7 separate regions of the Homo sapiens genome follow, and regions 2, 3, 4, 5, 6 and 7 are each linked to region 1. The links are contacts of gene promoters, found by promoter capture Hi-C in human tissues and cell types (Jung and others, 2019). All regions are on one chromosome and are shown on one strand. Each heading gives the region's core, a stretch centred on a gene start or on the middle of the fragment in contact. The rest is flanking DNA. Distances are from core to core; before and after follow the strand shown.

Evidence for each region. The method cuts DNA at HindIII sites, captures the fragments that hold promoters and counts their contacts. A contact is called where the count stands out against the background at its distance.
Region 2: a contact is called between a fragment that was not itself captured here and the fragment with the promoter of GGACT in region 1, in 2 of the 25 tissues and cell types used here (lymphoblastoid cells and thymus).
Region 3: a contact is called between a fragment that was not itself captured here and the fragment with the promoter of GGACT in region 1, in 1 of the 25 tissues and cell types used here (dorsolateral prefrontal cortex).
Region 4: a contact is called between a fragment that was not itself captured here and the fragment with the promoter of GGACT in region 1, in 1 of the 25 tissues and cell types used here (dorsolateral prefrontal cortex).
Region 5: a contact is called between a fragment that was not itself captured here and the fragment with the promoter of GGACT in region 1, in 2 of the 25 tissues and cell types used here (dorsolateral prefrontal cortex and spleen).
Region 6: a fragment that was not itself captured here is called in contact with the fragment with the promoter of GGACT in region 1 in 2 of the 25 tissues and cell types used here (hippocampus and spleen).
Region 7: a contact is called between a fragment that was not itself captured here and the fragment with the promoter of GGACT in region 1, in 2 of the 25 tissues and cell types used here (IMR-90 fibroblasts and lymphoblastoid cells).

The regions. Positions count from the first base shown.
Region 1 is chr13:100,587,351-100,590,455 of GRCh38, reverse strand. GGACT (gamma-glutamylamine cyclotransferase) reads left to right here and starts at 1,667. Exons shown (of 3, transcript NM_001195087.2): 1 at 1,667-1,715. RefSeq lists a silencer at 1,515-2,034. The HindIII fragment of the contact is 6,002 bases long and covers 1-3,105 here.
Region 2 is chr13:99,631,286-99,634,390 of GRCh38, reverse strand. The region is part of intron 1 of CLYBL (citramalyl-CoA lyase); the gene reads right to left. Among named protein-coding and RNA genes, the nearest start is that of MIR4306, 10 kb to the left of the region's middle. The HindIII fragment of the contact is 8,104 bases long and covers 1-3,105 here.
Region 3 is chr13:99,651,231-99,654,335 of GRCh38, reverse strand. All of the region lies in intron 1 of CLYBL (citramalyl-CoA lyase), which reads right to left. Among named protein-coding and RNA genes, the nearest start is that of MIR4306, 9.7 kb to the right of the region's middle. The HindIII fragment of the contact is 3,879 bases long and covers 1-3,105 here.
Region 4 is chr13:99,667,601-99,670,705 of GRCh38, reverse strand. The region is part of intron 1 of CLYBL (citramalyl-CoA lyase); the gene reads right to left. Among named protein-coding and RNA genes, the nearest start is that of CLYBL-AS2, 22 kb to the left of the region's middle. The HindIII fragment of the contact is 4,692 bases long and covers 1-3,105 here.
Region 5 is chr13:99,686,106-99,689,210 of GRCh38, reverse strand. The region is part of intron 1 of CLYBL (citramalyl-CoA lyase); the gene reads right to left. It overlaps LOC124903199 (a long non-coding RNA gene), which reads right to left. Exons shown (of 2, transcript XR_007063848.1): 2 at 1-597. Among named protein-coding and RNA genes, the nearest start is that of CLYBL-AS2, 3.3 kb to the left of the region's middle. RefSeq lists enhancers at 1,625-2,383, 2,384-3,105. The HindIII fragment of the contact is 3,167 bases long and covers 1-3,105 here.
Region 6 is chr13:99,792,510-99,795,614 of GRCh38, reverse strand. The region is part of intron 2 of CLYBL (citramalyl-CoA lyase); the gene reads right to left. All of the region lies in intron 1 of CLYBL-AS3 (CLYBL antisense RNA 3), which reads left to right. Among named protein-coding and RNA genes, the nearest start is that of CLYBL-AS1, 65 kb to the right of the region's middle. The HindIII fragment of the contact is 4,897 bases long and covers 1-3,105 here.
Region 7 is chr13:99,828,756-99,831,860 of GRCh38, reverse strand. All of the region lies in intron 2 of CLYBL (citramalyl-CoA lyase), which reads right to left. The region is part of intron 1 of CLYBL-AS3 (CLYBL antisense RNA 3); the gene reads left to right. Among named protein-coding and RNA genes, the nearest start is that of CLYBL-AS1, 100 kb to the right of the region's middle. The HindIII fragment of the contact is 5,772 bases long and covers 1-3,105 here.

The sequences.
Region 1 (3,105 bases), core at 418-2,917:
GTGATGGTGGGTGCCTGAGGTCCCAGCTACTCAGAAGGCTGAGGTGGGAGGATCACTCGAGCCTGGGAAACAGGGGTTGCAATGAGCCAATAACATGCTACTGTACTCCAACCTAGGTGACAGAGTGAGAACCCATCTCAAAACAAACAAAAAATTCGTCTAGTCTGCGTCATCTTTAATTTTCCTTTATCAGAAGAATTATTTATCTATTTGTCTCACTTTCCTTTGCTGACATGATTTTCCCCCCTCAAAAAAGAGATGAAAGTGGAATCATTCTTTCGCTTCAAAAAGTTAAGAATTACTGCTGTCTTTAAAAATATTAATATGAGGCCGGGCGCGGTGGCTCACGCCTGTAATCCCAGCACTTTGGGAGGCCGAGGCAGGCGGATCACGAGGTCAGGAGATCGAGACCATCCTGGCTAAAATGGTGAAACCCCGTCTCTACTAAACATACAAAAAATTAGCCGGGCGTAGTGGCGGGCGCCTGTAGTCCCAGCTACTTGGGAGGCTGAGGCAGGAGAATGGCGTGAACCCGGGAGGCGGAGCTTGCAGTGAACCAGATCCCGCCACTGCACTCCAGCCTAGGCGACAGAGCGAGACTCCGTCTCAAAAAAAAAAAAAAAAAAAAAAAAAATATTAATATGAGCTAGACAAGGTTTTTTAATACATTTCAATTTAATTATGAAGTGTCCAAGACAAGAAAAAACTGTGAAAACCAACGACTTATGTACCTGATGGTTTAGATTTCTTTTGGAATTGTACATCTGTTCAAAATACAATTACATCTGCATTGTTGGAAACGTTTGGATAAAAACCAGTTTATATAAAGGTTTCAATCAGTCCACATCCATGAGAAAGTAGAAAGGGCAGGAAATGATTAAGGGGGATTATTGCTAATCTGATAAACACAGATTTGTGTCTTTCGGAGAGACAGAAGTGTCACTCTCTCCATAGCTGTACCATTCCTACCACCTGGCCCCCAAGTGGCATTGCTTTAACCCATTGTCTCTAGGGAAAATGTTCTCTTTCGATTTTGGTTCTCAGTCCTATAATTTCTGGGGCTTAAATTAGTCCTGGAGCTAGGGAAGAGGTGATGTCATCCTTCCATTGTCTCCTTCGGCCACAGTTTCATTTTAAGAGTATTGGTAAGTAAGTGGGCAGTGTGACTAGATGGCGGTCTGGACTCGGTATCAGGGCTGTGTGCATGCCCAGCTGGGGGGCCTTGGTGGTGTGTGATGTGATAGATACACACATGGTTGGCATCCCCAAGTGTGTCTGCGCTTGGGTTCATTTGTGTGTGCATGTGTGTCCATTTGATGTGGCGTGTCCCCAAGCTTGTGGAGTCGTCTGTGAGTCTGTTTTGTGGGGTGTGGCCCAGGTGTGTCAGGGTCCACCATGCAGTCGGGGCTTGAGCCTGAGTGCCCAGGTGTGTTAGGGTGGATGTGACTTCTGTGGGGCGTCCCCAGGTGTGTGAAGCTGGTTGCGCTGTGTCTGCGGCGGGGCGTCTCCGGCGGGCATCGGCGTGGGTGGGTCTGGCTGTTAGGCGGCCAGTTGTGCGAGCGGCCACGTGTGTGCGAGGGCGCCGCAGGGGCTGGCGGGCCTCGCGTTCCGCCTGCAGGGGGCGCCGCCGGGGGCGGCCTGGGAGCAGAGGCGCGGGCCCGGCCCTGCATTTCCGCCCTGGCCCTGCCCTCCCCGACAGCCCCGGCTGCCGGCAGGTGAGGCGCTGAGCCCGGGCGGGGGTCGGGGCTGCGCCTGCTCCGCCCCCCAGGCGGGGTGTCCTGGCGCCCGCGGGAACCTGGGGCGTCGCTCCCTGCGCGGCGTCCGGGTCGAGGCCGCAGCACTCGGCGTCCCCGCGGGTGAGGGAGGAGGCCTGGGGCGCCGCCGGCCGGCGAGGCCAGCCGGAGGGAGGGGACGGTGGACCCCGAAACGCGTCCTCCATTGCCCCGCGCGGGGGCCACGGGCGCGATTGCCAGAACGGGCAGAGGGCGGTAAAAGCCAGGAACCGCCTCACGCACGGGCGCTGCTTCCCTGTAAAGGAAGCGTGACAGCCCACACGCTGGCTTTCAGAGGACCTCAGCTGAACCGGGCTAACACTTCTCAGAAATTGTTTTTCATTTTAAAGATTTCCTGTTTGTAAGGAGACTAGAAGCTGCAAAAGAAATCTAAAAACGTCTCCTGGCACTTGTGAATTTCTGATCTAAGGTTTCTTTGGAGCCATTAGTGAAACTTCTGAAATTTTGAAGAAATTTACTGCCTTGATTATTAATTATGGTTATCATTGCTGTTTTACTCTGTGGGCCAAGGACAACGCCACAAGCTCAAAAGCAGACTTAAGTGTTTTTTGAACACAGCTTCTTAACTCCACGCTTAGTTGATTTAATATTTAAGTGATAAGAAAATGCAGTCGATTTCTGGCCCTTTTTATTGTTTGGGATGAAGTCTTGCCCTGTTGCCCAGGCTGGAGTGCAGTGGCGCGATCTCGGCTCACTGCAACCTCTGCCTTCCGGGTTCAAGCGATTCTCCTGCCTCAGTCTCCCGGGTAGCTGGGATTACAGGCGCCTGCTATCACGCCCAGCTTATTTTTGTGTTTTTAGTAGAGACAGGGTTTCACCATGTTGGCCAGGCTGGTCTCGAACTCCTGACCCCGTGATCCGCCCGCCTTGGCCTCCCAAAATGTTGGGATTACAGGCATGAGCCACTGCACCCGGGATTTGTGGCCTTTTTTAAAAGCAAGTTATTCGTTTTGCTAAATGTCCCAGGAGAAATGATTAATGAAAAACTAAAGGTGACCTATTTAAAGTGTAGGTCTTACACACACGTAGGTGTCCTTATGTACATTTACCTGTAAGTGAAGACTTTTCCCTGGCCTCATTCAATTTATTGAAATGCTCAGATGAAGAGCACCTGCAGTTTGCCCGTATTTTCCCAAAATGCCTTGTTTTCCTGAAACTATTCCCAGAAGAAGCCAGACTTCCCTGAATAAGCAGACCACTGTGTTCTAGCAGAGATTCGTATTGTAAAAGCTGAGTTTGCAAAGTTAAATTAATTTCTAATTGGTGGATTTTTGTACGGAAATACTTTGGGCTAGTTGATTTTACTAACCAG
Region 2 (3,105 bases), core at 192-2,691, 960 kb after region 1:
TATCATCTGGGGTTATTTCCCTTAAGCCTAAAGAAATTCCTTTAGCATTTCTCATAGTCAGATTCTTTGCAACAAATTCTCTCAGTTTTTGTTTAATTATAAAGGTCTTTATTTGGGCTTCAATTTTGAAGGATAGTTTTGCTGGACGTAGAACCCTGGGTTGATATTTTGTCTTTCAATACGTTTACCTTCTACTCTCCACTGTTTCTGATAAGCAGTCGGCTGTTAGTTATATTATTGTTCCTTCTGTGCACCTTCTTTTTTTCTCAGGCAGCTTTCAGGACTTTCTTATTTTTGGATTTCAGCAATGTGGCTCTCATGTGCATGTGTGTGTTTTAATTTATCTTGCTGAGTGTTTGTTAAGGGATCAGTGAGTTAATGGATTTCACCGAATTTGGAACATTTCTGGTCATTATCCCCTCAAATATTTTTTCTGCCCTAATCTCTTTTTTGCTTCTGGAACTCCAACTATACATGTTAGACTGCTTGGTACTGTCCCACAGGTCTCTGAGGCTCTATTTGCTTTTCTTCAATCTTTTTCTTTTCCTCAAACTGAGTACATACGATTGATCTATTTTTCAGTTAACTTTGTCTGCTATTGAGCTTACTGGTAAAAATTTCTATTTAGTTCATGTATTTTCACCTCTCTTTTCATAAAATTCACAATTTTCACCATTTTAAAGTTTAAAATTCACAGTGCTGTACAAGCCTCACCACTAGCTCAAGAACACTTTCATCAACACAAAAGGAAACCCCATATGCATTAAACAATCACTTCCCATTCCCTCCTCCCCTCAACCTCTGGCAACCACTAACCTTTCAGCTCTTTTTCATAGCTATTTTTTTTTTTTTTTTTGAGACAGAGTCCTGCACTGTCACCCAGGCTGGAGTACAGTGGTGCCATCTTGGCTCACTGCAACCTCCACCTCCCAGGCTCAAGCGATTTTTGTGCCTCAGCCTCCCAAGTAGCTGGGATTACAGATGCGTGCCACCATGCCCAGTTTTGTATTTTTAGTAGAGACGGGGTTTTGCCATGTTGCCCAGGCTGGTATCAAACTCCTGACCTCAAGTGATCCGCCCACTTCTGCCTCTCAAAGTGCTGGGATTACAGGCATTAGCTACCACACCTGGCCTTATTTCTTTTCTTCTCTTCTCTTTTTTTTTTTTTTTTTTTTTTTTTGAGACAGGATCTTGCTCTGTTGCCCAGGCTGGAGTGCACTGGTATGATCTCGGCTCACTGCAACCTCTGCCTCCCACGTTCAAGAGATTCTCCTGTCTCAGTCTCCCACACCTGGCTAATTTTTGTATTTTTAGTTAGAGACAGGGTTTTGCCATGTTGGCCAGTCTGGTCATGAATTCCTGGCCTCAAGTGATCCACCCACCTGGGCCCCCAAAGTGTTGGGATTACAGGTGTGAGACACTGCACCTGGCCCATAGCTACTATTTCTAAGCTGATACTCCCTATCTGTTCATTCATTGTGTATACATTTTTATTAAGTCTTTGAATGTATTTATGGTAGATGCTTTAAAGTCCTTGTCTATTAATTGTAACATCTCTATCATCTTGAGTTTGGCTTCTATTATCTACTTTTTTCCCATTTCTACCTCTATCTAGTGGGGTTTTTTTGTTTTTGTTTTGTTTTTTTTGAGACGGAGTCTCACTCTGTCACCAGGCTGGAGTGCAGTGGCACAATCTCGGCTCACTGCAACCTCCGCCTCCCAGGTTCAAGGGATTCTCTTGCCTCAGCCTCTTGAATAGCTGGGACTACAGGTGCCCACCAGCACACCTGGCTAATTTTTTTTGTATATTTAGTAGAGATGGGGTTTCACTATGTTGGCCAGGCTGGTCTCAAACTTCTGACCTCAGGCAATCCGTCTGCCTTGGTCTCCCAAAGTGCTGGGATTACAGGCATGAGCCACAATGCCCGGCCTCTAGTGGTTTCTGATAGGACACTGGACATGATGATCGATATGTTATAGAGATTCCAGATTCTGCACATTTCTCTGAAGACTAATTTTTGTTCTAGCAGACAGCTAACTTGGCTGAACACAAATACCAAGTTCTGTCTTCCCTATGGTAGGCAGTGGCCAAGATCTTTGCTTAGTTTTTTTCAGGCTTAAAGCTGCTACTTTTTCACCAGGTTTGCAGACACATAGTTTAGTAGCCAACCAAGGATTTGTGCAATTTCATATGCAGATTTGGGTGTTTGTGCCCTCTGTAGCTCCCTCCTCTCTGGGGTTTCCCTCTTAATTTTCTGACTGCTCTGCCAGCTCTGCCAGTTTCTACCTCTGCCCTCTAACATCGCAATACAGTAAGGCTGCGGCTTTTGGCCACTTAATTAGCTTTGGGAGTACCTTCAGGTTAAAGCTACAAACCTGCAAACCTTATCCACCGCAGTTTGTCTTTTGAGGTAGATTCTCCTCCAGTTTCTGCCTGATTTTGCTTGCTTTCTGGTGACTTACAATAGTTTTTAAAAATACTTTGTGTGTGGCCAGGTGCGGTGGCTCACGCCTGTAATCCCAGCACTTTGGGAGGCTGAGGCGGGTGGATCACGAGGTCAAGAGATCGAGATCATCCTGGCTGGTCAACATGGTGAAACCCCGTCTCTACTAAAAATACAAAAATTAGCTGGGCGTGGTGGTGCGTGCCTGTAGTCTCAGCTACTCAGGAGGCTGAGGCAGAAGAATCGCTTGAACCCGGGAGGTGGAGGTTGCAGTGAGCCGAGATCACGCCACTGCACTCCAGCCTGGGCGACTGAGCGAGACTCCAACTCAAAAAAAAAAAATTTGGTGTGAATCTTACAAATCTACATAAAATACAGGGGGATTAGTACAATCAAGCTATTCTACCATTTATGGGAACTACCTTATTCTTTTTAACAGCTACGTCATTACTATGGTATGACTATCCCTGTATTTAATGAATCTTCAATTTATGGGCATTTGATTATATATACACACACATATATGTATGTAATATATGTATATATTATATATTTGCATATAAATTATATATGTGTATACATACACACACACACACACACACACACACACACACATAAATATTTGGAGACAGGGTCTGGCTCTGCCACCCAGGCTGGAGTG
Region 3 (3,105 bases), core at 422-2,921, 940 kb after region 1:
CACTCCCCACTGCCAGCCCAGCCTCAGCTACCCCTCAGGTCTGGGGTGCAAATGCTGCTACTCCACTCTCTAGGATGGACCCAGGGAGAGGTCCATGGATGCCCAGCTAAGGAAAACATTTCCCAGCCTCTCCTGCATCTGAGTGTATTCATGGGTCAAAGTTCTGATTGATGGGATGTGGTCAGGGTGAGCAGAAATATAGTGTCCCCATAAAGGAAGGCATGTGTCCCCCTACCCCACGTGGTGGGAGCAAACCAAGCAGCCGCCTTGGGGAAGATGTGTGCCATGTGCTGAGGTTGGCAGAACCATAGCTAAAGGAGCCTGAGACCTCACTGAGCCATCGTTATCAGCCCTGCACCACCTAACCATGTTTCAAGTGAGGGGGGAAGAAATTATCCTTGATAAAGTCATTGTATTTGAAGATCTTTTGGCCATAACACCCAAATCTGTATCCTCACTTATATCCTAGTTATGGATGAGTTGAATGAAAATGGGCATGTCCAGCCCATCATACCCAGCATATCACCCTTGAATCAATTGAAATTTGAGCAGGAGAAGGAACAAGTGAACCAAAACCACACTGTCAGCGTCCTGGGAGATCTGGACAATTATGAGACTCAAAAGTGGAGGAGAAGGTTAATAACTGGCCAGGATGAAAAAAAAAGAAAAAGCTAGAGAACAAATGAGAAGCCAAGAAAAGGAGAAAAAAGTCCCAGTAGCTTCTCATGTGGTGTGTCTGAATTTCCAAACAGATGCACGTAATTAAGTAGGTTTATTTAAACATGAAAGATCACTATTTCTTTGGATCATCATAAGGCTGGTGAACAAGCACCATGATCTTTGGATGAGTAGAGGGAGGCAGAGACCCCTGCCAGGAGTTACAGGTGAGTTGCTAGGAATGGAGGTCTGGAACCTAAGTGTGCTGGGTGCTCCCCCTTATATACAGGACTTTTTTTTTTTTGGCCGGTCCTCCTTGTCCCCAGGCTAACAGCCTCATGACACAGATTCCTTAGCAGTGGCCTGCTGCTTATTCCTGCTCTTTAAAAAATAGTACATCCATCATGATACTCCCATTCTGAAACATCCACAGGTGCTCCTAGTGCTTAGAAAACAACATCTGAAGTCTTTGCCTAGAATTCAAGGCTGTCTACAACTGGACCCAAACACCCTTCCAACCTCACTCTCCACCACTCCCCTCTACAAACCCTTGCCCTTCAGATTGGCTTGTCTTTTCCCAACAAACAGTATACATTCCTGCCTCCTGTGATTTTCCTCAGGTAGCCCCACCTCCCCCAGGGCCATGCCCTGCTACCACACACGTGCAAAGCCCACTTGTCGTCATGGGAGTGTTATTTACCGCCACCAGCTCATCTGCTTTTAGGGTGTGTCTCCCCAGCTCATGACTGCAACTCTTCCCAACTTTGTGTCAGTCATACAAGGTGGCCAGCACAGCCCTTCCACTTGGGAGAAGGGCATCCATTGTTTTGATTTGATTGATTCTTAAGAAGCAATAAGCTTCAGTAGCATCCTCACCTCCGACACCCAGGCGAGAGCCTGCCTGTTATGTGGAGGCCTCTGAGTGGCTTCTCCCTGAGTATGGAGGTGAAAGAGGCCACGACACCACTTGCCATTTGGGTAGCATTGCTGGAACATTCGGGACCCTTTCGCACCTCATCCATCCATGGCTACTCTGGATCCTGCACCCACAGGTCCTACTTTTGGCAAATCAATGCTGGCTAGCAGGGGCTATAGTGTTATCCCTTCCCAGGATATCTGCTTTTTATTTTTTTAATTGAGATAGGGTCTCACTATATTGCCCAGGCTGGTCTCAAACTCCTGAGTGCAAGTGATCCACCCGCTTCAGCCTCCCAAAGTGCTGGGATTACAGGTGTGAGCCATGTCTGGCCAATATCTGTATTTTAATGGACAACTTCCCTGCTTGCTCAGAACACTTGGCAAATCACACCAGACAGGCCAGTTGGGGCACTGGAGCACTGGAAATGGAAGGTTTAGTCCTGTGGTGAACAGTCACTGGCTGTTGACTATCCCAAAACACACTTCACCCCCTGAGGAACTTGCCTCATCCTACCCACAGCTGACAGTGTGCTGGGATTATCATCAAGGAGCCCAGCTCTCCCAGAGCCAAAGGGTGGGCCCTATTAGCCCAGTTGGACACTCCCTCCCTGGAGCCTGCATCCTGAGCAGAGTTACAGACTGAGCACCCTGGCAGCACACTGTTCTCGTGGCTGAGCAGGGACACAATGGAGAAGGATTCATGTCGGCATGCCTACAGTTGCTTTCCACCGACGGTGTGAATGTGTCCATATCCTTCCAGGAAAACCCCCTCTTGCCAAAGCCAGATGTGGTGTCTGTTGCTTACAACCAAGAATCTTTTTTTCCCCCCAAGATGGAGTCTTGCTTTGTCGCCCAGGCTGGAGTGCAATGGCATGATCTCGGCTCACTGCAACCTCTGCCTCCCGAGTTCAAGCAATTCTCCTGCCTCAGCCTCCCAAGTAGCTGGGATTACAGGCACGTGCCACCAGGCCTGGCTAATTTTTTTGTATTTTTAGTAGAGACGGGGTTTCACCATGTTGGCCAGGCTGGTCTCAAACTCCTGACCTCATGATCCACCCACCTCTCCCTCCCAAAGTGTTGGGATTACAGGCGTGAGCCACTGCACCTGGCCACAACCAAGAATCTTAACTGATGGAAAGCCACAACCCAGAATTCCATTTCACTCAAAAAATATTTATTCAATTCTTTTTTGAGACGGGGTCTCGCTGTGTCACCCAGGCTGGAGTGCAGTGGTGTGATCTTGGCTCACTACAACCTCCGTCTCCTGGGTTCAAGCGATTCTCCCACCTCAGCCTCCCAAGTAGCTGGGATTACAGGCATGCGCCACTACGCCCAGCTAATTTTTGTATTTTTAGCAGAGATGGGGTTTAGCCATGTTGGCCAGTCTAGTCTAGAACTCCTGACGTCAGGCCACTCGCCTTGGCTTCCCCAAGTGCTGGGATTACAGGCGTGAGCCACCTCACCTGGCCTATTTATTCAGTTCTTGTCATGTGCTTGGCACCAAGACAGATGCTGGGCCTGCAATCAGGT
Region 4 (3,105 bases), core at 295-2,794, 920 kb after region 1:
CAATTTTGCAGTTAAATCGTATTTTTGTTGTTGCTGTTGTTTTGGCCAAAAACAAATTGTAAAACTGAAAAAAGTCAGTAATTGAGGAAACTTTCACAAATATGAAATGTTAAAACATTCTTTTCATTTGGATAGTTGAAAGAAGGGCAGAGCAGAGATTTCTAAATCCTAAAACAGGCCAGTAGATGCCTGTTTTTAGAGCACGTGTCTAGAAACTGCAGGTAAGTTTTGTTTCAGGAAACATAAACAAGTTATGTTTCAGGAAACTGCCACGGGAAATTCCACGTAACATAACTTGGATGGTGAAGAACTTCTTAAATTTAATTTTTACTTTTTTAGAGACAGGGTCTCGCTACTTTGCTCAGGCTGGACCGCAGTGGCTATTCACAGACGCAATCATAGCTCACTATAGCCTCAAACTCCTGGGCTCAAGTGATCCTCCCACCTCAGTCTCCCAAGTAGCTGGGACTATAGGCATGCACCACTGCACCTAGCTCTTTTTTTTTTAAGATGGAGTTTTGCTCTGTCACCCAGGCTGGAGTGCAGTGGCACGATCTTAGCTCACTGCAACCTCCGCCTCCCAGGTTCAAGCAATTCTCATACCTCAGCCTCTTGAGTAGCTGGGACTACAGGTGCATGCCACCATGCCTGGCTAATTTTCATTTTTTTTTTTTTAATAGAGACGGGGTTTCACTATGTTGGCCAGGCTGGTCTCGAACACCTGACTTCAAATGATCTGCCTGCCTCGGCCTTCCAAAATGCTGGGATTACAGGCGTAAGCCATGGCGCCCAGCCTGCACCCAGCTCTTTAAAGTGTCATTTATACACATGGAAATTTCTAATAGGCCCCTTGCTAAAACAATAGAATGAAAAAATATGCCTATAAGGAAACTTAACAGATTGAGTAAGCCCAAACTTGTCTTGCAGTTCTAGGAACCCTGTCACTAATCATGAGATATATGCTGTGTGGGGTGCAGAACACTGTTTGTATCTCAGTTGTGAGTAACAGCTCTTAAAAGCTAAAAATAGGGATCTTCATGGGAAATGAAAAAGAAAATGTACAACATCCATGCAATTGAAGGTAGGCTCTCAGTAAACTAAGAAATCTTTTCAGAGGTAAAGAAAATGAAATAATGATTTGAAACTACCACCCAACTCTCCATTTCCTATTTGGGAAAAGCTAAGGTTCTTTGGAATATCTAACTTTTTCAAGGCTTATGACACCCTCCCCTCCCATCCACCTCTCCCCTCTCTCCAGTTCCTAGAAAAATGACTGCATAATGTGCTTGTGGAATTTTTGCAAATGGCTAGAGAAAGCTCTGGAAGGAAGAAAGGACAAGCTACATGTTCTTCACGTGTCTCCATGCCCCTAATGCCTCACTCCCCATTCAAAGCTAAGGACCTGGCCGGGCGCGGCAGCTCACACCTGTAATCCCAGCACTTTAGGAGGCTGAGGCGGGCAGATCATGAGGTTGAGAGCTCGAGAGCATCCTGGTCAACGTGGTAAAATCCCTTCTATACTAAAAATACAAAAAAATTAGCTGGGCATGGTGGCACATGCCTGTAGTTCCAGCTACTTGGGAAGCTGAGGCAGGAGAATCGCTTGAACCTGGGAGGCAGAGGTTGCAGTGAGCCGAGATCGCGCCACTGCACTCCAGCCTGGTGACAGAGCAAAACTCCATCTCAAAAAAAAAAAAAAGCTGAGGGCCTATAAAGTCACCCCTAGATCTGCCCACACTTCTTGGGCATCTGCCTCCTGCCTTCTCCCCGCTGAACCAGCTTGTCCTGCCCTGGAGCCCCTAGTGAATCTGGCTTCTGCACTCTTCACCTAGATTAACACCTTGATTCAATCATATCACGGCCTTGGAGTGTGATTTTATCCCTTCATCCTATTTTCTGGATTGGCTTCCAGCACCTTGGACCTGGCCAGGACACCCCCAGCTTGGCATCCCAGAAGCCCGGCAGGCTGGGGTTGCTGTGTCATTGTACCATCCTCATGCCCAGGGAGGGGATTTAGACATCAGCAGTGATGAGCGATAGTTCTCATTTTTCTTCTATCTACCAAAATACATTCATCTTGCTCAAATAGCCAATATTCTTTTTTTCTTTTTTTTTTTTTTGAGATGGAGTTTCGCTCTGTCTCCCAGGCTGGAGTGCAGTGGCATAATCTCAGCTCACTGCAACCTCCGCCTCCCAGGTTCAAGTGATTCTCCTGCCTCAGCCTCCCGAGTAGCTGGGATTCACAGGCAACTGCCATCTCACCCAGCTAATTTTCGTATTTTTAATAGAGATGGGGTTTCACCATGTTGGTCAGGCTGGTCTCGAACTCCTGGCCTCAGGTGATCCACCTGCCTTGGCCTCCCAGTGCTGGGATTACAGGCGTGAGCTACCATGCCCGGCCGCCAGTGTTCTATTAAAGATTTTTTTTTTTTAAGACAAGGGCTCACTCTGTCGCCCAGGCTGGAGTGCAGTGGCATGATCTTGGATCACTGCAACCTCTGCCTCCTGGGCTCAAACGATCCTCCCACCCCAGCCTCCCACGTAGCTGGGACTACAGGCATGTGCCACCATGTATGGCTATTTGTTGTATTTTATGTAGAGACAGGGTTTCACCATGTTGCCCAGGCTGTTCTCGAACTTCTGACCTCAATCAATCCTCCCACCTCGGCCTCCTAAAGTGCTGGAATTACAGGTGTGAGCCACCATGCCCAGCCTCTAATGTTCTATTGAAGATGAAGATTTATTTTTGCTCCTCATCTTTTCATACCTAATTACTTGGCAAGCATTAATAAAAAATGATGGGCAAACCTTCATTTCTCAGGTGACCAGAGAATTCTTCAAATGCATCTATCCTTTTGTTCCAAAACAGACCATTTGCCAATTGGAATAGTAGAAAGATTTTTGTTTTTAGAGGGAATCAGGTGAATGTGAAATGAGTTGACTAGTAAAATTTAAGAGCGAATGTTTATTTTGACTACTAGAAATATCTGAGTCAAAAAAGTAGGAGATTTGTTTTTTAGATAATATCAAATGTATTCCATAACTTCATCAAAATGATTTTCAATGCAGGCACCACAAGTTGCTTCCCTTAAAATGTTCAATTGT
Region 5 (3,105 bases), core at 301-2,800, 900 kb after region 1:
ACTTTGCAGTAATGAAGCTTAAAATGTCAAAGATTCTGTAAGAGATTTTTGAGTGGAGGAAGATACTTGATGAATTTATGTGAAGTCCCAAGGGCTAGATGCTGGGACCCTAGATTCCAGCCAGAGTGTACTTACTAAGGACAGGAGGGGTGATGCTTGGGGTGTGAGGCCGGTTTTATTGAGAGTCCTTCCAAAACTGAGTGGGCAGACCTGGAAAACGCAGGTTTCACCTTGGCCTCAGTCCCAAAGGTGCATCTGTACCACTAGCTTTTGTCAGGATGAATGACGGTGCTGAGTAATTTCAGGAAAGCAACTCATCTGCCCAAATATGACTGCCAAAATATTCAGAATAATGTAGCTTAGCACTTCAATGTAAATTTTACTTTCTGACTTCACAAATAAGGAAGAAGTTGCCTTTTGGACGCTCTATCTTTTGCACTGGCTTTAATACCCAGGAACGGCCACTGTCAGATCCTCCATTCCATGCAGGAGCTGGAAGAGATATAAGGAATGTATTTCTTCTCTCTCTCTTCATGTCACCACCCTCTCATTTCCAGTTCACTTGTTATTCTTAAAGAGTAATGCCAAGTTTGTACACTAAAAAAAAAAAAAGAATCGGACTAAAGAAAAGCCAAATAAGTAATATAATTAGTAAATATGCTAATTCAGATTAAAATATAAGTCTTTAAAAAGTTCAACTTGTTATATGTAAAATTATTTTAATGACATATTGGAGAAAAATCTGGCATTATGCTGCCAAGAAGGCAATACATTTAAGGCAATCTTACAAAGTATATGAAATCACAGACTGTAATATCCTGCAACTATTTTAATTTTAAAAGCTCAGTTTACAAATATATACTAATATTTTTCTCACTTTTAATCGCTCCCCCACTGTTTTAGCATAAGAGCTAAAATAACCTAAAACGGCCCCTAAAACACACACAGCGAGTCTGTTACACAGATCTGGAAACCAAAAAAAAATGTATGAAGGAAGGAATTTTCAATAATCTGAAACAGAGTAGCAAAAAATGTGTGTGGTTTCTAGGTTTTCACTACTAATAAAAATTTTTCCTGGGAAAAATTTTACTTTAAAGCAACTCTAAATGAAAATGCATATAATTAAGGGAAAGACCGTTGCTTCAAACAGATTGACTGTCTTTAACAAGTTTCTCTCTTTCTAGCTACTCAGATATGCTATATTTCCTAATTATCACCTTTTAAGGGCCATCTGGGCCCATTCCTCCCCATCAGGGGGCAATTCCATTTGCATTGTTCCTGGGCTTAGTCATGATCAAGTAGTCTGGTGGTAAAGTTCATTAGAAATTAGAACAGAAGCATTCAACCCAACACAGTAAACCAAGTATCTGATACTCAGGCACCCGCAGGAGAGATGATAAGCATGTCAGACATATTCTCACATAACTAACAAGTCTTCAATGTGCATTTTATCCAATTGCTTAAAGAAACATTCAGCCTGGTCCCTGACCAGGTATGTAATGAAGATTTGATTAAGTCTTCTCACACTGCAAAACATTTCTCAGTTAAGGCAATGTAAGTATAGTCCCTTATGTCTTTTGGTTCAAAAGTCTATTAAAAACCCTTTAATGGTTCCCTCATTTAGCCTACCATTCACAAGCAGTATACTACTTCCTTCCTGTAGAGAACACACAAGAATTATCCTAATTGTATTTTCTGTGAAACAAACGCACATTACAGGAAAAAGTGGATCCAGCCCTCAGTCCGATGCTGACTAGCTATGGGTCCCTTCTGTCCTCACCAAGAGATCATCCTATAGATTCACAAGCTCTTTACAAACCTGTGTGTGTGCCAAAGGCATGCCTGGCCCATGGGTATGCTAGATAGTCCAGGCAGCTGCTCTTCAACAGAGCTGATTGTAAAAGGTATGGCTAATTCAAGGCAGGCATATAAAAGGTTTCCCGCTTCATACCTCATAAGGCCTGATACATAAAACCCAGGAAATCGTTACCTGCCTCATCTTGCAATTTCTGAGCCTGGCTTGCAATGGCCATCTTAATCCGCAACACCAGCCTATTGAGATTGAGGAGGAGTGCTCCATGCTGAGACCTACAGCCTCTTGGAGCTACACCTTAGTCTTGCAAATGAAGACAGCTGCAGCGGGCCCTAATCTATGCAAGGCAGGTGTAGCCCCGGAGCTCTCTGCAAGTGACCCTTGGAGCTATTAGGGCTGGGAAGTTAAGAAGTTACAGTTATAAAAAGAACTATTTCATAGCCTCTCATTATCGAGGTTACTAAGCTTTCTAAAGGAACAATGGCTTATTTCCTCCCATTTGTGCCTTGATATCCTCCCCTGCCCTTCTGAAATTCCCTGTTTAGACAGTTCCTAATTCTGACCCCGGCTGAGACACTTTAAATTGGTGGCATAGCTCGTCCCCAACTGATGCTATTCGTTCAATGCTGTGTTGAAAATTTGAATCTGCGTCAAGTTTTCCATTTTAAAAACCTATCCTAAAATCCACTATCCAGACAGAAGTGGAGATTTCAGGAGAAAGTAATGCTTACAGAATCATCCCAAGATTCAATAATGTATATAAATGATACTTTAGTACTGCTTAGTAAATTAATCTAAAGCAAAACATTGCATTACTGAAACTGAGCCAACAACAATTCACTCAAAAAGCAGTCACTGAGTCTCTCTCTCTCTCTCTCTCTCTCTGTTGAAACAAATACTTTTATGTCTGAGGCCAGCTCCTGGCCTCGAGAGTGTCTCTCAAAGGACTGTGGAAACAGAACTCCAAAGATGTTTCTGCTATAGAAGGAAATGGCTGTGTCACTGTGTTATCAGCAAGGCCACCAGATGCTCAGAGGGGAGGTGGTGCTGGTGCTGGGCCGAGCCGGTGAGCTCAGCACTAGGAGCTGCCGGCTCCTGCGAGTCAGGCCCATGTCAGTCTAGGAGCATAGTCCAAATGGAGCAGCTATATATGCCCTGGAAAAACTCAGAGCATGTAGCCTGGATTGAAAGAAGGTCTCCTCCCAGGGCTCTCACCCTTTTCTTAGCTCAGAGTGTCCCTGAAACAGCTCCACACAAATTCCCGGGAACTGCCACACTGTCTTCTCCAGCAT
Region 6 (3,105 bases), core at 241-2,740, 790 kb after region 1:
TGGCATGATCATGGCCCACTGCAGTCTCAACATCCTGGGCTCAAGCAATCTTCCCATCTCAGACTCCTGAGTAACTGGGACCACAAGCACATGCCACCATGCCTGGGTAATTTTTTTTTCTTTTGTAGAGGTGGGATCTCACTATGTTGCCCAGGCTGATCTTGAACTCCTGGCCTCAAGTGATCCTCCCTCCTCAGCCTCCCAAAGTGCTAGGATTACAGGTGTGAGCCACTATCCCTGGCCCTAGAAAAGTCTTTTTGGTTTAATTACCTGGAGTTAATCAATAACTTGCCCAAGAATATGCTGCTTCTTAGACTAGACTTGGCTGAGAATTCAGGGCCCAACTGTTAACTTTTGGAGGTTAATTTCTGACCAATAAATGGCTAACACAACTGCATTACATGGAGGAAATTGCAAAAACATATTTGAAATAGCACATTTTTAGTAGAAGGGCAGGCTGTGTCTTGAGTTAATTCCTGACTTGACATTTGCTCCTCACGAGCCACACTTTCCTCCTCTGTTATCAGCAAAACACCATGCGGCCTGCATAGCCGGTACAGAATAAGATTTAAACCACCACTACCACCATCCTGAGAAGCTTTGATATATTTAAAAATACATGGCAAAAGTATGATATTATTGCTGAACTCTGTCTCTAAATCAGAATACTAAATTATGACTTAAAATACACCCACTGATTTATTATTAAAAACATAGTATTTAGCCTGGGTGTGGTGGCTTACACCTATAATCCCAGCACTTTGGGAGGCCAAGACAGATGGATCACCTGAGGTCAGGAGTTCTAGATCAGCCTGGCCAACATGGTGAAATCCTGCCTCTACCAAAAATACAAAAATTAGCCAGGTGTGGTGGCACATGCCTGTAATCCCAACTACTCGGGAGGCTGAGGCATGAGAATTGGTTGAACTCAGACGGTGGAGGTTGTGGTGAGCCAAGACAGCACCACTGCACTCTAGCCTGGGTGACAGCATATGACTCCATCTCAAAATAATAATAATAATAATAATAATAAATGAAAATATAGTATTTAATACTGTTATAAATTGTGGCAAATGAAATTTTTAAAAACTGAAAAGAATACTATGTTTTGATATGAAGCATGTTCTCTGCATGATTTCACACTATCTTCTCTTTATTTTGGCAGTGGTTATATACACTTGAATCTTTTTTCTTGAGATGGAGTCTTGCTCTTGTCAGCCACGCTGGAGTGCAGTGGTGCAATCTTGGCTCACTGCAACCTCCACCTCCTGGGTTCAAGTGATCCTCCTGCCTCAGCCTCCCAGAAGCTGGGATTACAGGTGTGTGCCACCATGCCCACCTAATTTTTGTATTTTTAGTGCAGAGAGGGTTTCATCATGTTGGCCAGGCTGATCTCGAACTCCTGACCTCAGGTGATCTGCCTGCCTCGGCCTCCCAAAGTGCTGGGATTACAGGCATGAGCCACGGCGCCTGGCCACATATTTGATTCGTTAGTCACAGATTTAGCAAACCAAAACCTCTTAAATTTATTTTGTAAAAATCACCTGTGGTCCTGGTCCAACGGAGAGATTTTAATTAGTAGCTATATTTGGAATAAGTAACTTTAATGATTTTCACCATAGTCTCGAAGCTATTTCTTACTTCATATTAGAGGAAATGGATGCAGTTTCCACATTTATAAAGCTTTGAATCATTTAAGCTGCATTTTCTTTCTTTTTTTTTTTTTTAATCTTAATTTTGAGCTGGAGCTCAAAGATCTGTTTTATTGCCTAGGCCCGGGCTTTCTGTAGCCAGATATATCACATTATAGATCATACTCAGTCTTACTTAATTGGATTCCTAGGAATTGCAGGAAAAGAAATAACTGGCAATTTAAAGCCTGCATCTCTTTGAAAAGAGACTTTGCTGATCTCATTAAATGGAAATTGCTGACTATTATGACCCTAATAGAGATATTTGAATCCTTGCATTAAGAGGATGCCTGGTTTGAAGAATAAAACAATGAGAAAAAATTTTTTGTTGTTTTTTATTTATTTTTTAACAATTACTGTTCAAAAGGGGAAAGGTTATTTAAGGGTATGAAGAGATTAATAAAAGACTGAAAACACTTTACTACTTTTATAAAAACCTGGATAGGTTTTTATATCAGAACCTTTAAGGATCAAAAAGACCTTGCAGAGTTCCTAAGCACAGTTCAGCTTTCCACACTGTTCCAGAAAGACTCAGATATCCTAATTCCTATTGAAGACATCTCCTGAGCTCTTAAGTCTTTTAATAAAAGCAAGGCACCTGGGAGAGGAGCCTTCCCATCCTAATTTCACACCCCTATTGAAGAGGAGTTGGCTCCCCATGCCCCTGTATACATTTAATCATTCCCTGCACATTAGTTCACTGGCTCGCTGTGGGAAGTATACACCTAGCCACTCCACTAATTTATTTCAACAAAAGTGACAGCACTGAGGAATTTAAAAGTTAGCCAAATGGATTCGTGTATGTGTACGGTGTGTCTATGTAAGCATAAATGGGGCTTTAAGGTCTACGTACTTTGTGTGTGTGTGTGTGTGTGTGTGTGTGTGTGTGTTATGTATGCACATGTGCACAAGAAGAAGTATAAATGAGAGCACAAAGTAGAGAGAATATATATGCTCAGGTGGAAAGGACCCTCCATCTGTATGGCAATTAAAGTAATAATAATAAAGAGTACTAATAAATTAATAATAAAGACTAATAATAAGCCAATAACTTTGAATGATATTGGGCGTTTCTTTCTGAGCAACTCACACTGACAAATGGAGTGCCTCCCCGGTTCTGCAGTCTAACAGGTGACTACAGGAGGCCTTGCAGGAATTTCTGTTTGGGGAAGAGGCACTTAGGAAGGGGCTCACTGTGGGGGTCATAGCTGCACTCCCTTCTCTACAGCACAGCCTCCAGTTGTTCTCGCCTCCACAACCACTCACCTTCTTTTAGGCCTTGGCAGGAGAAGCATTCAAAGAGCATGGCCCAGTTGAGAAACTCCAGGGGTGGGGCGTAGGGTGGGGTGTGGGGTGGAGGGATTGCCAAAGCACTGACTGCCACTTAGAAGGCATTTGCCTTCCTCTGTGTTTC
Region 7 (3,105 bases), core at 431-2,930, 760 kb after region 1:
CCTAAACCAGACAGGTTGATTGAGTGTGGATCTGGTACAGAAACAAAGTTACCAAAACAAGGCCAGGGATGGAGGGATATCAAAATGGGGCCCCTTTTTTTCTGGTAGCGTGTGTTTCCTTCTACAAAAAAAAAAAAAAGAAAGAAAATGGTGGTTCACTCAAGAAGCGGGTATTTACAGACAGCTATTACACGGGCAAAAAAAAATGCTTACTTCAAAAGATCTAATATTATTCTTCAATAATATTGTTAATGTGTTTTAAGATAGAGTTATTTTATTTATTTATTTATTTGTTCATTTTTTAAATTTTATTTTAAGTTCCGGGATATATGTGCAGGTTTGTTGCATAGGTAAACATGTGCCAAGGTGGTTTGCCGCACCTATCAACCCATCACCTAGGTATTAGGCCCAGCATGCATTAGCTATTTATCCTGATGCTCTCCCTCCACCTGCCTCCCTGAGAGTTCTTTTATTCTTATTATTAGTAAGAACAACCATGATGTTAATTAGGAAAAGAGACCTTGCAGCTCCTGATTAATGGTATCAATGATAATATATCTGAGGTGTATTAGTTTCTTAGGGCCACCATAACAAATGACCATAAAATTGGCAGCTTAAAACAACAAAAATGTATTCTTTCATAGTTCTGGAGCCCAGAAATGTGGACTTGAGGTGTGTGCAGGGCGCAGTCCCTCTCTAGCGGATCCTCCTTGCCTCCTGCAGCTCCTGCTGGCTGCTGGCAGTCCCTGCAGCTGCCGCCACCCAACCCCTGCCTCTTCCTTCATGTGCCCTTCTCCTCTGTGTCTGTCTTCTCCTCTGTGTCTGACTTCTCTTCTGTGTCTGACTTCTCTTCTGTGTCTGTCTTCTCCTCTGTGTGTCTCTGATTTCTCTTAAAAAGACACTTGTCATTGGATTTTGGGCCCACCCAGATAATCCATGATGGTCTTTTCTCGAGATCCTTAACTTCATCGGCAAAGACCATTTTTCCAAATAAGGTCACATTCACAGGTCCCAGGGATTAGGACATGGACTTATCTTTTCAATGCAATCCACGACTGGAAGCATATTCCATGAACAATGGAATGAACACTTCTTTAAAAGAGTTATTAGAAAGCAGTATGTTAACAAAGGTGAGTTCTCCCTTTTCCATCTCTCCCTCTCCTCTCTACATCCCTTAAGAGGAACAGTGCCTGGACTATTTGAGGTCTTTGGTAAGATCTCTAGGGGTGTCACTGTGTCCTAGGACACAGAGCTAGGGACTGTCACAGACTCACAGAGTAGTTGAGTTGGACAGAACTTAGAGGTAACTTGGGGCAACCCTAATCTCACATATGACTCCTCTCTGCAACATTCCTGGGCTGAGGGGCACCCACACTGCTCCAGTGTCTCCAAGTCCATCTTTATGTCCTTGGCTGGCTCTAGGTGCCACTTTCTATACCGCAGTGGTGCCTGGAACCACGCTCAGCCTCCTCATCTTTATGTGCGTCAGTGCCTGTCCTTCCCGTTGTGTTGTTCATCTCTACCAGGAGGGCACTGATCTAAACCACTGTCCTTAGGATGTGTGCATAGAGTAATTCTTTTCATCAAGAATGCTGGCTCTTCCACTTAGGCCTAATAAATATCTTTCATCATGCAGAAAATGCATTTTTAGATGACTGGCTGAGTTTCAGAATCACAGAATTTTAGGGCTGAAGAAAGCTCTACAATTATCTAGTCATTTTAGAAACAAGGAGACAAAAGTCCGAGAGAGAGATCAACAAATGACTGAAGGTCACTCTGATGCCGGGGGGAGAGCCAGGACTTGAACGCACATCCCCTGAAGCCCATCCGAGAGCTTGTTCACTACATCACATATGATTCAGAATGTGACCCAAAGCTTGCTCCGGTGTGAATTACGCTTGACATGCTGGCCCCCTTGGTGCCACCCCGTGAGACCATCAACCCAATGATCATATTCAACAATATTTCCTGAGTGTGTGCTATGGGCAGACAGGCTCTCCGCTCTCACGGAGCTTATACACTCAAGCGAGTAAATGATTAAACAGTACCTGAAAGGCTGCAAGGCTCTAATCAGCTGTCACATTTCGGAGTTGATTGGGACTGAGGTCAGCTTGTTCAGCTCCTGATCCTTCACTGTACCCTTAGAGGAAAGGTGACGTAACTGGAGCTAATGTCCCTACTTTAAAGGTTCCTAGAAGTGTCCAATGTCATCATTTGAGTCAAAAGCACCTATTGGTCTAGAAAATAATTCTCCTCACTTCCTTTCTAGTGCTCAATTCTAAGATAAACCAGAAACCCAAGATCAGTAATGACAACAACAACAACAACCCTGCTTTTATTAAAACTCATCATTGCCCATAAAATAAAGTAGATCTCTTGGGAAGAGTAAAGCCACCAACTAGCTACTTGTACATGAGAGAGGCATTTTCTGGTTGACACAGTGAGAAAAAAGCCCCAGATGGCGGATCTTTTTGGCATGGACTTCCCTGCTCCGGCTGTCTTAACGTGTTCCTTCACTGCATTCATTCTTCCTGCATCAGAACCGCCTTGGCAGTTTGCTTATTTCCAAGGAAGAAAAAAAACAGGAAGGTTTGCATCTGCAAGATTCCTACCTTCCTCCTTGGATGCTACGGTGCCTATTCACAAGAGGTGGTGACTAAAATGACCTGGAGCCTTGGGTGAAAAATTTCAAATCTCTGTCCTGTGACAGGTTCAACACATTCCCTTCCTCATGAGAAAGGAAAGGGGATTCGAGTTTTGGAGGGCGTTACCTGGGTGGGATCTGATGCCTGATGCAGATTCTGAATGTATTTGAAAACAGGTTTTGGCATGTGGGGATGCAGCACGTTGCATGGCTGCTGGCTTCAGAGTACATCCCGTGGGTTCATAGCCCTGTCTTCCGTCACGAGGAATCCCTGCCAATCTAGGGTCTGCACACTGCTTCTGCCAGCCAATCTCTAATTCAGCATATGTACAAAGCCAATTTTTGGACACCGTGATGGAGCCTGGCACCTCTGCCGCCCTCCATATTTGCAAGGCTCACAGTGAAATAACAAGCAATGAGCAAGAAAGAAAAAAAGATGACATGAAAAGGCTTTCTAAATT